Linked DNA regions of Homo sapiens: region 1 is linked to region 2. The links are contacts of gene promoters, found by promoter capture Hi-C in blood cells and fetal thymus (Javierre and others, 2016). All regions are on one chromosome and are shown on one strand. The core of a region is centred on a gene start or on the middle of the fragment in contact, and the rest is flanking DNA. Distances in the headings are between cores, read along the strand shown.

Region 1 (6,490 bases), core at 3,057-5,556, 2.1 Mb after region 2:
TGAAGATGCTATGTTGTCTGGGGTGTATACCCTGGGGTTCATCGTTGTGCACCAGAAAAATTTAGGACCTGGGCACACACGAGGAGTTTAGGAGCGTACATTTAACAGGCAGAAGAGAAGAAAAAGAGGTCTCTTCTTTATATAGAGAAAGGGGTCTCCAAGCAGAAAAGACTGGCTGGTGGCGGAAAGTGCCGAATTTTCTAGTCCAGTTTGAGGAGGTGGTGTCTGATTTACATAGGGCTCACAGATTGGTTCGACCAGGTATGATGTTTTCATAGCACACGGGGAAGGCTGGTCACTCCACCCTAATCTTATTATGCAAATGGACTTTCCAGTTGATCAGTGCCATCTTGCCTGCTCCTTGCAGTACACGTGGCTGGCAGAGAAGGGAAAACGGAGGCGCCATTTGAACATGTCTAGTCCTTAGTTCCTGCCAGCATTCATTCGTGTAAGCTCCCAGCTTGCAGGCTGCTCTTTGTTAGAAAATTATTTGGGGCTGCTTTTCATTAAAAAGAAAAGCCTTACTGAGGACTCCCATACCCTTACTATGTGTCTAAGTAATTTCTTCTTAACTCCTGTATCACTTTGTGAGGCTAATTCTGGGGTATATCCTATTTTTTTCAGAGGGTCTTCAAGAGGATAAAGAGCCAGTCATTGTCTACATCAAAACCAGTTTAATATCAATCCTCCTTCTTTGTCTCATTCTCTCTGCCTTTATTCCTGCATCCTGGTATCACCTCCCAAATAAACTATTTGCACCCAAGCCTTTGTCACAGGCTCTGCTTTGAGGGGAACCCTAAGTAGGCAGTTGATTTTATCAGTTGGGGTCCTACCATGCAAAAGATGACCCATTTAAGCTGGAAAACTGAAAATAATTTAGTAAGGGGAGTATTTCTGAACATGAGGTCAGGTTAGGGAAATGAAACGTGGTGTAGAACCCCAGGACTAGTAATGGTGGGGAGCAGTTACCACTCCTAAGTCTGAAGAGACAAAGGCAAGTTACTAGACTCAGAAGAAAGAATTGAGGAGAGCTGCTGAACTAGAGCTGTGGCCTTCAGTAAAGGGACCAGCGTCAGGACTCAAGTGAGACAAGCATTCTCAGGTCGGTGTCAGTGTCAGCCTGAGAGTGACTGCCTCCTTAAATCTGGTATCCTAGGTCTCTGCTTGCCTCACCCTAGTCCCAGCACAGTATCTCATGGAGTTATGATTAAATGAATTAAGATATAAGAGGCATAGAGAGGTACATACAACATGCTATTGTTGATATTGTTACTACCATTATTGTCTACATGATGCAAAAGTTTGAATGCATTATGATGGTTCCTGAAGTACACTTATAGGCTGGGCTTATTGACTAAGAACCTCTGCACTGATTAAGACCTTTTCATTGTGTGGTGAGCATTCACGAAACAGCCTTCAAACTTTATCGCTCTCTTACTAATTCAGTTTTTGCCAACCTTTCACATCATGGCATCCATAGAAAATGGTAATATCTGTACAACACTAGAGTGAAAAGATGATGATACCCTCAACCTGAGGCAACTGCCCCAAGGTCACTGCTTCCTCCAAAGACTGCAGGGGTCAGTCTTCAGCCCACCCATGCCAGGTGGGAAGCTCTGCTCAAATCCATTATTCATCCTGCACAGTAATACCAATTTAGCTTTCCTAAAACAATACTTCCATCATGTCCTTTGCCTCTAATAACAACGACAAAAATCCAGAATTCTTGGTCTGATACTCAAGATTAAGGCATGGAGTTGGAAGAGACCACAGGAATCATGAAATTGCTCCCCTTTATTTTACAGACTCACAAAGAAATGCCCAGCAAAGTTTAATAACTTATTCAAAGCAACATTGCAATCTTTCTGCCAAGGAACTATCATTTACCCTATCCATTTTTGCCGACAGACATCCATTGTCAAGTGCTACCTCCCAGTTCGCCCCATTGGGAAATGAATGCTTCCTCCTTTAAACTCTAATAATACTCATTCAGATACTGAACAGTAAGAGGGAGCAGAAAAAGACCTAATAGTTATTTCAGCCTGAGCTTCCCTGTGTTAGATGATATGATCAGATACTGGAGAGTACGGTTTTACAATACACTGATTTATAAACCAGGATGCCTATTCACTAATAACCAATTCACTAATAACAGAACAAACAGAACAGAAATGGATGCTACAACTTAGGTTGGCTATTCAATATAATCTGGGGTCAGTAAACTTTTTTCTGTAAAGTTAGAGCAAATATATGAGGGAATAGTAATAAATAGTAAATATATGAGGGCTACAGTCTCTGCTGCATATTTTTCTTTACGTTTTTGTTGTTGTCGTTGTTGTTTTGTTCTGTTTCTTACAATGCTTTAAAAATGTAAAAAATGGCTGGACACAGTGGCTTAGGCCTCTAATACCAACACTTTGGCAGGCTGGAGTGGGAGGACTGCTTGAAGCCAGGTGTTAAAGACCAGCCTGGGCAGCAAAATGAGACGCCATATCTACAAAAAACAAAAACAACAACAAAATAACCAAGAATGGTGGCATGTGCCTGTAGTCCCAGCTACTCGGGAGGCTGAGGCGAGGTGGAATATAATGTAAGACCATTCATAGTTCATGGTACAAAACAGGTATCAATTCCCATTAATGCATAGACACTCCATAATTTAGTATTGCCAGACTTCTTTTTTTTTTTTTTTTTTTTTTTTTTGAGACCGAGTTTCGCTTTTGTCAACCAGGCTGGAGTGTAATGGCACCATCTCGGCTCACCGCAACCTCCACTTCCCGGGTTTAAGCAATTCGCCTACCTCAGACTCTCAAGTAGCTGGAATTACAGGCGCCTGCCACCATGCCCGGCTAATTTTTGTATTTTTAGTAGAGATGGGTTTCGCCATTTTGGCCAGGCTGGTCTGGAATTCTTGACCTCAGGTGATTCACCCACCTCGGCCTCCCAAAGCGTTGGGATTACAGGCTTGAGCCACCGCGCCCGGCCCATACTTCTTAATTTTGTGATTTATTGCCTGAAAAACGGTCTCGCTGTGGTGTTTTTTTTGTATTTCCCAGATTAATAATCAGACTGAATTCTTTTCATGTTTATTAGCCATAGCAACTCCTCTTCCACACTGGCATTTCTTATCTTTTTCAAAAATCTATTAATCACGAAAATCTCGTCATCTACATTTCTTCACAAAAGCCATATTACTTTTGATCTTTATAGATTATTTTACATTTGCCATATTTATACATAATATCTTCCCTTTTGGGGCATTTAGAGTGTGCGGACAAAGTCTAGGCAGTAATGCATTTATAAAACATCTATGAGTTGGGTGCACACGGGGTAATTTTCCACATATGGCTAATCCTAGCCTCATCAGATTAAGTTTCCCTGTCTTGTCATTTCCGAGGATGTATCCTATTAGAAGTCTAGCCCTTTATTCCTACAAATTGAATTTCCACTACTGTAGGCTAACATCTGAATGGACTCATCTTACTATTCCATGCATAGTACCAGGCACGTTGCGTGCTTTTACTACATTTTGTATAATTTTTACGTCTGTGTTTGATGTCCTGAAAAATACCGTCCACAATTACTTCACAGCTAGCCCCAGCACTTGGCGCCCAGCGGGTTTTCCTAGTCCCTCCCTGCCAAATCACGTTGGGACTGAGACAAGAGGCACTGCGGGTCTCTTACCTATAGTTACGAAGCAATGGACTCCCTTATTACTTCGTTTCCCAAATAGGGGGTGGGACACACAACCGAGGGAGTATGAGGAAAACAACTTGCGGGTCTTCGAGCCACTTGCGTCTTTCTGTGGGCGAGCCTTTCCAGGCCAATTACATTTTCTTTACTCATATTGCATAAATAGCAGAACTACATTTACCACAAAGGCCCGACATTCATGGTCATGGATCCTTGCGCATGTTTTCTAAGAGCAAACTGTACAAACACATAAACTCTGAAACACTGACGCACAAGCGAAAACACACGCACATGTTTGGGTCTTCTCCCGCTGCGCAAGTTCTTTGAAACTGAGCGGAGAAAAATCGTCTTCACATGGTGTCTCACACTTTCGACACAATCTTATCGGGAAACGTAACACGTAAACAAAATTTTTTAAAATGCATTATCAAAAACGATGACAATCCCTTTCGTCTTATGTTCCTTTTTGTCTTTAAGCTTTGGGGGGATTTATGTTGCGTTTCCAAACTGCTTCTGCCTGTCGGCGCCTGTGTGGAAACTGCGACGAGTCTGGGAGCGGCTGCCGGAGAGGCGGGGCAGAGGTGTGACGTCATCGCCGCGGGGCGGAGGCGACAGTGTCTAGCGGGAGCTCCGCGTGTAGCTACGCCGGCCGCCTGGCTTTGAGACAACGTGATTCTCCGCAGCTGGTCGCCTACCCGTGATGTTCTGCCCACGTCGAGACCTGAGCTGAAATGGCAGACGATCTCGGAGACGAGTGGTGGGAGAACCAGCCGACTGGAGCAGGCAGCAGCCCAGGTACCCACTCTGTGCCCGCGCTCCTACGGGGCCTCTCCCGGAGCCCTTCCGTGCGCCTCAGCCCTGGTCGCTTCTGGCGATCGCGGTGTTTGCCCAGCAGGGGTGTGCACCGCCTTGGGAGCGCGCAAGCATCTCGGGGAAAATGGTGCAAGAGATTCTTTAACACGTGAAACAGACAGCTGTGACATTAACTCAGATCTGTCTGCCAGCCAGGAAGGATCCTTTCCACAAGCTTTCTCTTTTCCTTATTTCTTGAGAATGGATAAGACAGTTTTTGTGAAGAGAGGCAACTTTGTATGATGGTTAAGGGTGACCCATGAACTGCTTTCAATTCAGACTGAGGTCAGAAGCAGGGGTTGCTGCTTCAGACTCCCTCCATTCAAATCACGACTCCAGTATTCTGATACTGTTTAGCCTCCTTTTCCTCATCTGTAAAATAATGATAACAATAATGTCCATTTCGTAAAGTTGTGAAGATTAAGTGAAGTTAGTACAGTAATGCACTTTAGCATAGTGCTTGACATATAATGTGTGGTAAATATAAGTTACTGTATTTCTTGTGGTCATCATCATTATCATGGAATTTGGAATAGTAGAACTGGAAGGAGGCTTAAATAGAGATCATCCTTTGAACTCACTTATTTTACAGATGAGAAACATAACCTAAAGATGTCAAGTAACTTGACAAGTTCACAAAGCTAGCTCCTTTCAGAAACAATACTAGAATTCAGTTAACACAATTTGAATAGTTTCTACTATGCTCTGCTGTGTTTACCAACTCCTGATGCAGTGGGCATTTCATCCCCAAGTAGAGTAGCGTTAAGTGACCCCCCATGTCAGGCTAGCCTTGAACTTTTTAAGTTCCATCACACCTACCATGCAATTATTGGTTGGTTGGTTTTTATCACTCCTCAAGGTCTGCCTCTTTTCTCTACAAGAGAAGACAGGGCCAAAGTCAGATTCATACTTCTGTCATCCACAGGGCCCTGCACATGTTAGACACTTGATACCTATTTGCTGCAAACAATCTTGAAATACTAGTTGTGAAATATCCATTAAAAATAACCAACTTCATTTGTTGCATTGTTTCCGGAAGGTCAAGCCTTCAGGTACAAACTAAGCAGATGTCATTTTTAGAAAGGTAGCCAATACAACATTTCCTTGATTAAACTTCCTGACTCTTTTGCAGCCCTGTGGTGTTCCACATTTACTTTAATAACTACCCCTCCCAACTCAGGTGTTAAAAAGCTCTATTTTATGATATGATTGAAGATGAACAGAGGCCATTTAAGAAATAGTTGAATTCTGTTTGAGTGGTGAAGGGGATCCCAATTCTTGGTTCTAGTCCTCACTAGCTGTGTGACTTTCAAGTTATTCATCCGTTGGAAGAAAGGCAGTCAACATGTATTGAGTATCTATTATGTGACAAATGTCTTCATAAATATGAATTGATTTAACTTTCATAACATCCCGAAAAGGTAAGTATTCTCTTCATTTGTATAGGTGAAGAAACAGAAAAAAGTTAAGTCGTGTTCTTAGGAACACACATTGAAGAAGAGGTCTGGGAAGAGTTTAGTCAAGTGTGATTGATTTTGAAAGTCACGCTTTTCCCGCTACTACTTTGTGACTTCTCTGGGCCTTTGTATCATAATCTGTAAAGAGCCCTTAAAGATCATCTTTTTTAGGGTTTTACCAACCAACAGTTTTTTTTTTCTTTTTTTTTTTTTTTGACACGGAGTCTCCCTCTGTCGCCCAGGCTGGAGTGCAGTGGCACGATCTCGGCTCACTGCAACCTCTGCCTCCTGGGTTCAAGCGATTCTCCTGCCTCAGCCTCCCAAGTAACTGGGATTACAGGTGCCCGCCACCACACCCAGCTAATTTTTGTATTTTTAGTAGAGACGGGGTTTCACCATGTTGGCCAGGCTGGTCTTGATCTCTTGACCTCGTGATCTGCCCACCTCGGCCTCCCAAAGTGCTGGGATTACAGGCGTGAGCCACCGTG
Region 2 (7,235 bases), core at 3,433-5,932:
AAGATGTATATTGCATAATCAACCTGTCACTTTTTTCAAACACGATTTGGGAGGGTATTGAGGTCCCATGTAAATTTTAAAATAAAAGACAAACAGGAACTAATCTTTTAGTAAAAATTATTTTGTTTTCATATAGGAAAACAATGCCTTCTGTCATTTACGGAAAACACATGGGCAATATGGTTGGTTGTTCATTGTGCCCCTCTATCCTATAGGAAGAATGTGATCTTTTAATTGTGCTTGGTGCTTTGTTTCTGGAGATATATATATATATATTATATATATGTATATATACCATATGTATATATACATATGTATGTGTGTATGTGTGTATATATATCTCTCTAGGTTGTATGTAATTCAATATGTTGGAATTTAAAGATGCATTATTATTTGGATTTGATGTGAAATTAGATTGTGAATAATGGAGATTGCTCTCCATTTTTTGCTGTTCTAGCATAGCCAAAAATATAAAGATATAGATGTACATATACATATGTATTTGATTAAACACTTTAAATTTTAAATGGCCGCATCAAATTTTAAATGGTAGATGATATCAACAATTGCAGTGCACTCAAAATGTTATAAAATCTTTGTAGCACAAATCCTGAAGTATATGCAAACTAAATAGCATATTTATATAAAATACCTAGATAACATGTCTAGGTTGAGATATTTAATCCCTCATAGAGCTATATTTGACTAATAAAAAACGACAGCTAAAAATAATTTCCCTCCCTATAAGTACAAATATGATTTTTAAAGCATCATTGTAACTTGTCATGAAGCTATTTATTATTAATTAAGGATTTAACTCTGTACCCATCTGCTCTTACAAAAGGGGAAAAAGATTTATCTATGAGAATAGGGAAGTATAGCACTGTTTTATGTTTTTCTCTTTAGTATTCTGTCACCATTTAAAGCTTCAATATATGCCTTCCACTCAGGTTCCTGACACAGCCTACATTCTCTTTTCTGGTTATAATCACAATATGGTAGAGCTATAAACAAGGTAAAAAGGTGTTAACAATTGAACTGCAATCCTACCTATTATCTACTTTACTATAGCAGTGAAGTAGTCCAGACTTATTTGAAGGTGGTACTATTTTTATCTTACAAAAATCTACTATAATATTAATAACTTTCCATGTAAATTTTCATGTGCTGGCATGCTTACAAGTTAATAGTGTTATAGAATGCTCAGCTCTCAATATGAGGGGTTGTTTGTGGTGAATTGCATAACATATGTCATCTATTTGCTGAAAGAATATGCTGTTTAGCAAACTACCTGCTGAGCAACATAATAAGATTTTTGTACAAGGTACAAATTACTAATTATTGTATTTTATTTTTCTATGATTTCCTAAGAGGCATTATCAGGGTCTTACAGATGGAGTAAGCCTGTTTATTAAAATATCTATTGGCAAATAAAAGTTACAGCTTTGGTGGTTGAATTTGTGACTTTTTTGTATTGTTGTATTTATGCAGATCTAATGCAATTTATTTTTTGGTCTAATAAATCTAGATGCTGTTTAGATAATTTAGTAATTCTGGATGCAAAATCATAGTTGTAAATTTTTTAAATAATGTCATTAGGTTTAGACATAAATTCACAGAAATCACTATAAAAAACTAGTAAATATTTTTGTAGCGATTTTATATTGGAAAATATTTTGTGAGATTCAAGTAAATTAAAGTGTTCATTGCAGAGGCAGTACTGCACAGAAATTGCAGATGAAAAAAGGGTACACATAACATCAACTGTTGAAACACAGCTTTAGACCAAAGTTTACACCAAAAAGTTGCAGTAAGTTATAAATCAGGGATTATCTATATTCTTTTAAAAGTTGCTGGTGAGAAAATAACGCTAAAGTATCCTGAATTAATCAGAACAGTGCTGTGTTCATTATATCTGACTCTTTTCTTTTTTATAATTTTCTTACTACAGTTCTAAAAGCCAGTATGAAATTAAAACTGGTGAGAAGGTACCTAAAATTATCTTCTGTTATGGTTAAGTGGCTTTAAGAAAATCACGTAGCATTTTTAAAGCTTGTTATTGTCATAATAAAAAAGAGTCAAACTAACTTCTTAAATCAAGCGAAACAATTGTATCTCAGCCTCTGAATGTACTCGTGAGAGGAGTTTCAGTTGACAAAGCACCAAAACAGCAGAATCAACCATATGAAATATTTATATGTATTTATTTTTAATAGAGATGGGGTCTCCAACTTCTGGCCTCCGGAGATCCTCCTGCCTTACTTAGCCTCCCAAAGTGGTGGGATTACAGTGTGAGCCAGTGTGCCCAGCCTTTATGTTTTTTGTTTTGTTTTGTTTTTGAGTGCAGGGTCTCACCCTTTTGCCCAGGCCAGAGTGCAATGGCACAATCTCAGCTCACCGCAACCTCTGCCTCCCCGGTTCAAGCGATTCTCCTGCCTCAGCCGCTTGAGTAGCTGGGATTCCAGGAACGTGCCACCACACCCGGCTAATTTTTGTATCTTTAGTGGAGATGGGGTTTCACCATGTTGGCCAGGCTGGTCTTGAATTCCTGACCTGGTGATCCACCTGCTTCAGCCTCCCAAAGTGCTGGGATTACAGGCGTGAGACACCGGGCCTGGCAGCCTTTATGTTTTTTTAAGTTTAATATTTTCAAGGCTAACATTTTTTTCTAGATTATTTTACTGCTTTATTTCATAACATTTATCTCTAGTAATAAGCCATCTATCAACTATACTTATCTAAGATAACGATTTGACTAGCTACATTTTTGTAGAAGAATTATCTATCTGCCTTGTTTTCCTGAAAAGTTGGATGCTCAATATGTCCATTTTATTTCCAGTTTTCACCAAATGTTTTATATTAAGCCAAAAGAGATGAACTCAACCTAGAGGCAGAAAATATCAACTTTTAGCAGGAAAAATTGAGTCTGTCCATGAAAGTTTTCTGAAATATAACATTTCTGCCGATCGCTAAGAAAAAAAAATGTTATATTTTGGCCGCAAGCACATTAGCTTCCATCTCTTACAAGTAAGTCACAACACCCAGGCACACAGAAAAGTGTTCAACACCTCCCTGTCAATGCATTCACGATTAGAAGTTCAGAAGTTAAAGAACCACCATAGTTACGGTTTGGGTCAATTTTGTTTACACAATAAAAAGCTCAAGACAAAAGAAGACAGGACATTATTTATTGAACAATAAATATGTGCCAAACATCTGTATTTCTGTTATCTTTAATACTCAGAACTACCAGATAAGATAAATACTATATTTTTGAAGGTGAGGATAGAAGCACGGAGAAGGGTAAATTGGGCTAAGACCACACAGTAAGAAAGAATGTATTTCCATACTCCATTTTTACAAGGACATTTATATGTTGATATGCATCCATAGGGTCTTTGTTTTGTTTTTGTCTTTCAACAAGAATCACTAATCCAGAGCCGCTTTTGTTTTTTCGCTGTAAAAATGACAATTACATTTGGAAATTTGGAGAAGTGACAAAAGATAAATCACCCCATAATCACACGCTTACAACCGTCCCCCCTACCATATTACTTTGAAATAATTCCTTCTAGTCTCTTTTTGCACCCTCCTAGTCCATTTAATAGGCCAAATGAATTGACAGGCCAAAGAACAGGCAGTGCAGTAAACATACACTAGCTAGTTGAAAAGGGTCGCGCGGTGGGGGGCAGGGGGTCGGAAATCCTACACCCATGCAAACAAAAAAAATGAAGAGATACAAACCCCTATTTGAAGAATGAGGCCATTCGCTGGGGGTGAGGTTAGTGGAGTTGGGCAGATTGAAAGGCTAGATCTTTAAAATGACTGCATCTGTAATGTGTCCGTTGGAAAACGCAGTAATAAAAGATGTGGGGAAGGGTATGCCTAAATATTTTCTATTTGAAGACCATTTGTGACTATGACTATAAAATCCAAGTGCAATTTAAGAAGGTGGTCAACTTTAAGTATTGACTATTAATACCTTTCCTGACCACCTGCCGATTTGATTCTGGAGACTGTAATCTACTCACAGGAGATTATGCCTGGTAGAAATCTCTTCGGGAGACCACACAACTAAGAAGCAGGGGTACAGGCATACTTTATTAGCCGAATAACACCTTTTGACTTTTTACACCAGTTCTCCCCTCTACCTTCCTGTATTAACAGTTTTACCTCTACAGGGACTCAGGGTGGGAGGCCTATCAGAACCCAGAGAAGAGTCGGTGCGATGGGCAACTGGGGAACTCCGGCGCACATCTTGCCCCAGGGGGGACAGTATCGTCTTGCAGTCGTTGCCACAACGCTACGCTGGTGCCCGGTAACGACACTCTCCGCGCCACACCCAGCGCCAGCCTCTTGGATCCCCAGGAAGACCAGGGCCGAGCGACAAACACGCAGCACACGCGAACGCCAAACGCTTCCCAGAAAGCTGTGCGCGAGCCTACAACTCCCATGATGCTACGCCGGGAACTGCCCGGCTCCTCGCAGGAAATAGGCAGCTCACCCTGCCACCTGTGCACACATTTTTCTTCAATGTATAGTTCCTCGGCGCGCCTCTGACCTTTTCCCGGAGCTCTTCAATCCCAGAAGCTATAGCACAACGGCTGAATCGCCAGGACCCCCGGGGAGGCGTGGCTTCAGGACCGGAAGAAGCTCCTGTTGCCAAGGGAACGGTGCCTGCCAAGGCGCCTGCTCAGCGACTGATGCACAGACTGCTGCAGAGGCTGCCGGTTTTCCCAACTTCTAGAGACGGCTTTGCTCATTACCAGGCATCCTTCCCATGTAGGCATCGAGAAGAAGGCTGAGGGACCCTCGCACCAGATTTCCATCCCGGAGACCGATACGAGTGCGTCCATTCCTGTTGCCAGCTCCTGCGCCCTCCGGACTAACCTCAAAAACCAGGTATCTCCTCAACGCCGGTTTTTAAAGCCAGCGCCACCCTCTGTCCCCGTCAGTTTTAGAATTCCTCTTTGGTCTTTCCCATGTTTTTCACTCCACGCGTGTAGTTGTTGCTAATGTATGAGAAGTAGAAAAGAAGGTGAGTTATAGAGGCCCTAGAAAACTTACTAAACTGGTTTGGACGTATGTTTGGTTGATGGGTTTTAACAATGCTCAACTTAGACCCGTGTATTGGGGGTGTGTGTGTGTGTGTGTGTGTGTGTGTGTGTGTGTGTGTAAGTGTAATTTAAATTATATCATAAAAAACTGAAAGCCGAATAAGAATGTTTATTTGGGGTAATAAAAGTAGGCAACATTTCAATCAACAAACACTTTACAGAGTTTACTAAGTATCATTCGTGGTGTTTTCTCTGGGCTACCACTCTGTCTCTGCAGCTTACCCTCTAAGCTGTTAACTGTGGATAACATCCTAATTCTTCTGGACTTCTCTGGCAATATGTAATCCTTTAGGAAACAGTCTGTCAGACAATAACCAAGAGAATTTGGCTGGTGTGCAAAGAGAGGGTTACAGTAAGATAAGAAACAAGAAAGGAAGATTGGAGCCAGATTGTGGACAACCTTAAAAGCTGTGCTTGGAAGTTTGAAACTACTGGCTTTATTCTGAAAGCCAGTAGTTCTCAATAGTAACTTCACATCAGAAACACTGGGTAGCTTTTAAAACTACAGATGCCCTGATCTTATTTTCAAAAATTCGGATTCAGCAATTGATTTCAGAGTGCAGCCAGGGTTGAGAATCATGGCTATCAGAGTAGGAAGCTGCAGAAAACAGTTGTGTCTCTCGCTGCACACTTAAGACACGATTAACAAATATTGACTGGCTTCAATTATCTTTTATTTATGCATGCAGAAAGTCAACTTATGGAAGGAAAATTATAACTACTTGAAACGTAGAAGTTTAAAGGCTCTATGATAGTTGTTTATAAAGCAATTTCAATAAATGTGATTACCTCTTTTAGAAAAACTGCCTGCTCTTCTAAATTGTGTGTCCCAAAATATTTCATTAACAAGTATCAAGTGATAATCCATGGAAAAGTGATGGAAAGTCACAATACAAGGTACTGTGAAAAACGAATATTCAAGCATCAGGCTTTAAACACTCAGTGCTTTATAGTAGATGCTTAAAGGGGGGAAAATGTGAGAAGTTGTCGTTTTTAAAACATAAGTTCTAAATTATGAAATGGAGAACAAGATATAAGCATTTATATCAATATGTTTATGCAGTAAATAAAGTGAGTAATAGCAAATTTACTTTGAAATCAAATGGTATGTGTGAATTGCTTCATGACATCAGAAGGTTAATTTAAAATAGATTTTACAAATGCTGGTCCTTAAGCTGTAATTTAAAGAAATGGACTGAATAAGATTTGAATCTCTGATACAAGGAGAAAAGCAGATTGAAGTGGCACAAATGGAAGTACCTGAGGTCAAACTCATCCTTGGGGAAAGACAAACGTGGTTCTGTAATAGGCCTCACCTTTTGGCATGGCACTGTTCCATCTCTTCTCTGCACATCACTGAAATTTAGTTTTGAAATTTCTACCCATAATCATATCCCAAAAGGCCTAAGCAAAATGTTGACTATGCAACCTCCTTTTAGATACAGTTGTCTTGGAAGCCTGTTATTGATAAAGTTGCTGCAGCCTCACATCCTTCAAGGTATGGCCTTGCCTGAAATTGTATGGAATAAAAAGTATTGAAGAAACTGTAATATGACAGGTTGCTTATGCAACCTTAGATGGAGATGAGAATAAGTCAATTTAATGAGAATAAAAACATTAGAGAACTAATGTTGGTGAGTAATGAGAAATATTTGGTACATAGATATATTGTAGCAGTTCCTGCAGCAGTTGGGGGCTGGAAAAAGGGATCTATCTCCCTGTCCTTCTACCACAAAGTAATGGTTTGGGGAGCAATGGACCCAAAGTGAGCTCCTTTGAAAAGTTTAGTTTGGAGACCTGAAGTGTAAATTTAACAGTACCTTAGATGAATATAAACAGCCATAAAGTTACCACATAGCAAGTTTTATGTACACAGCAGTTTTATTTGACTTCCAAATACTTCTATTTTTGGATTGCTGATAGTTTTTTTTTAAGTTTGCATTAGAAAGAATTTTTTTTTCAAAGAATCAATACAATTGAACAAGAGAAATGAACACTTTAGGGACAAGTTAACAAAGAAATTTTTAAGATACTTAAAAAACTAAATTAAAATCTACAATCAGTATTTACTTCCTTATTCTATACTAATACGATAAAGTCCTTTTAAAATAGCACTTA

What was found. The method cuts DNA at HindIII sites, captures the fragments that hold promoters and counts their contacts. A CHiCAGO score of 5 or more calls a contact.
Region 1: a contact is called between the fragment with the promoter of CMSS1 here and the fragment with the promoter of ARL6 in region 2, in 2 of 17 cell types (non-activated CD4 T cells and naive CD4 T cells). The highest score is 7.6, in non-activated CD4 T cells.

What each region holds. Positions count from the first base shown.
Region 1 is chr3:99,813,556-99,820,045 of GRCh38, forward strand. It overlaps CMSS1 (cms1 ribosomal small subunit homolog), which reads left to right and starts at 4,307. Exons shown (of 10, transcript NM_032359.4): 1 at 4,307-4,488. The coding sequence starts at 4,425. HP09053 (a long non-coding RNA gene) reads right to left here. Exons shown (of 3, transcript NR_110821.1): 2 at 5,365-5,419; 3 at 3,077-4,917. It overlaps LOC105374010 (a long non-coding RNA gene), which reads left to right and starts at 4,307. Exons shown (of 5, transcript NR_189163.1): 1 at 4,307-4,488. RefSeq lists a silencer at 3,988-4,742 and enhancers at 4,158-5,032, 4,264-4,573. The HindIII fragment of the contact is 550 bases long and covers 4,169-4,718 here.
Region 2 is chr3:97,760,076-97,767,310 of GRCh38, forward strand. ARL6 (ARF like GTPase 6) reads left to right here and starts at 4,683. Exons shown (of 8, transcript NM_001278293.3): 1 at 4,683-4,902. It overlaps EPHA6 (EPH receptor A6), which reads left to right. Exons shown (of 18, transcript NM_001080448.3): 18 at 1-1,457. RefSeq lists enhancers at 4,014-4,515, 4,151-4,690, 4,516-5,015, 4,731-4,840. The HindIII fragment of the contact is 6,880 bases long and covers 2,051-7,235 here.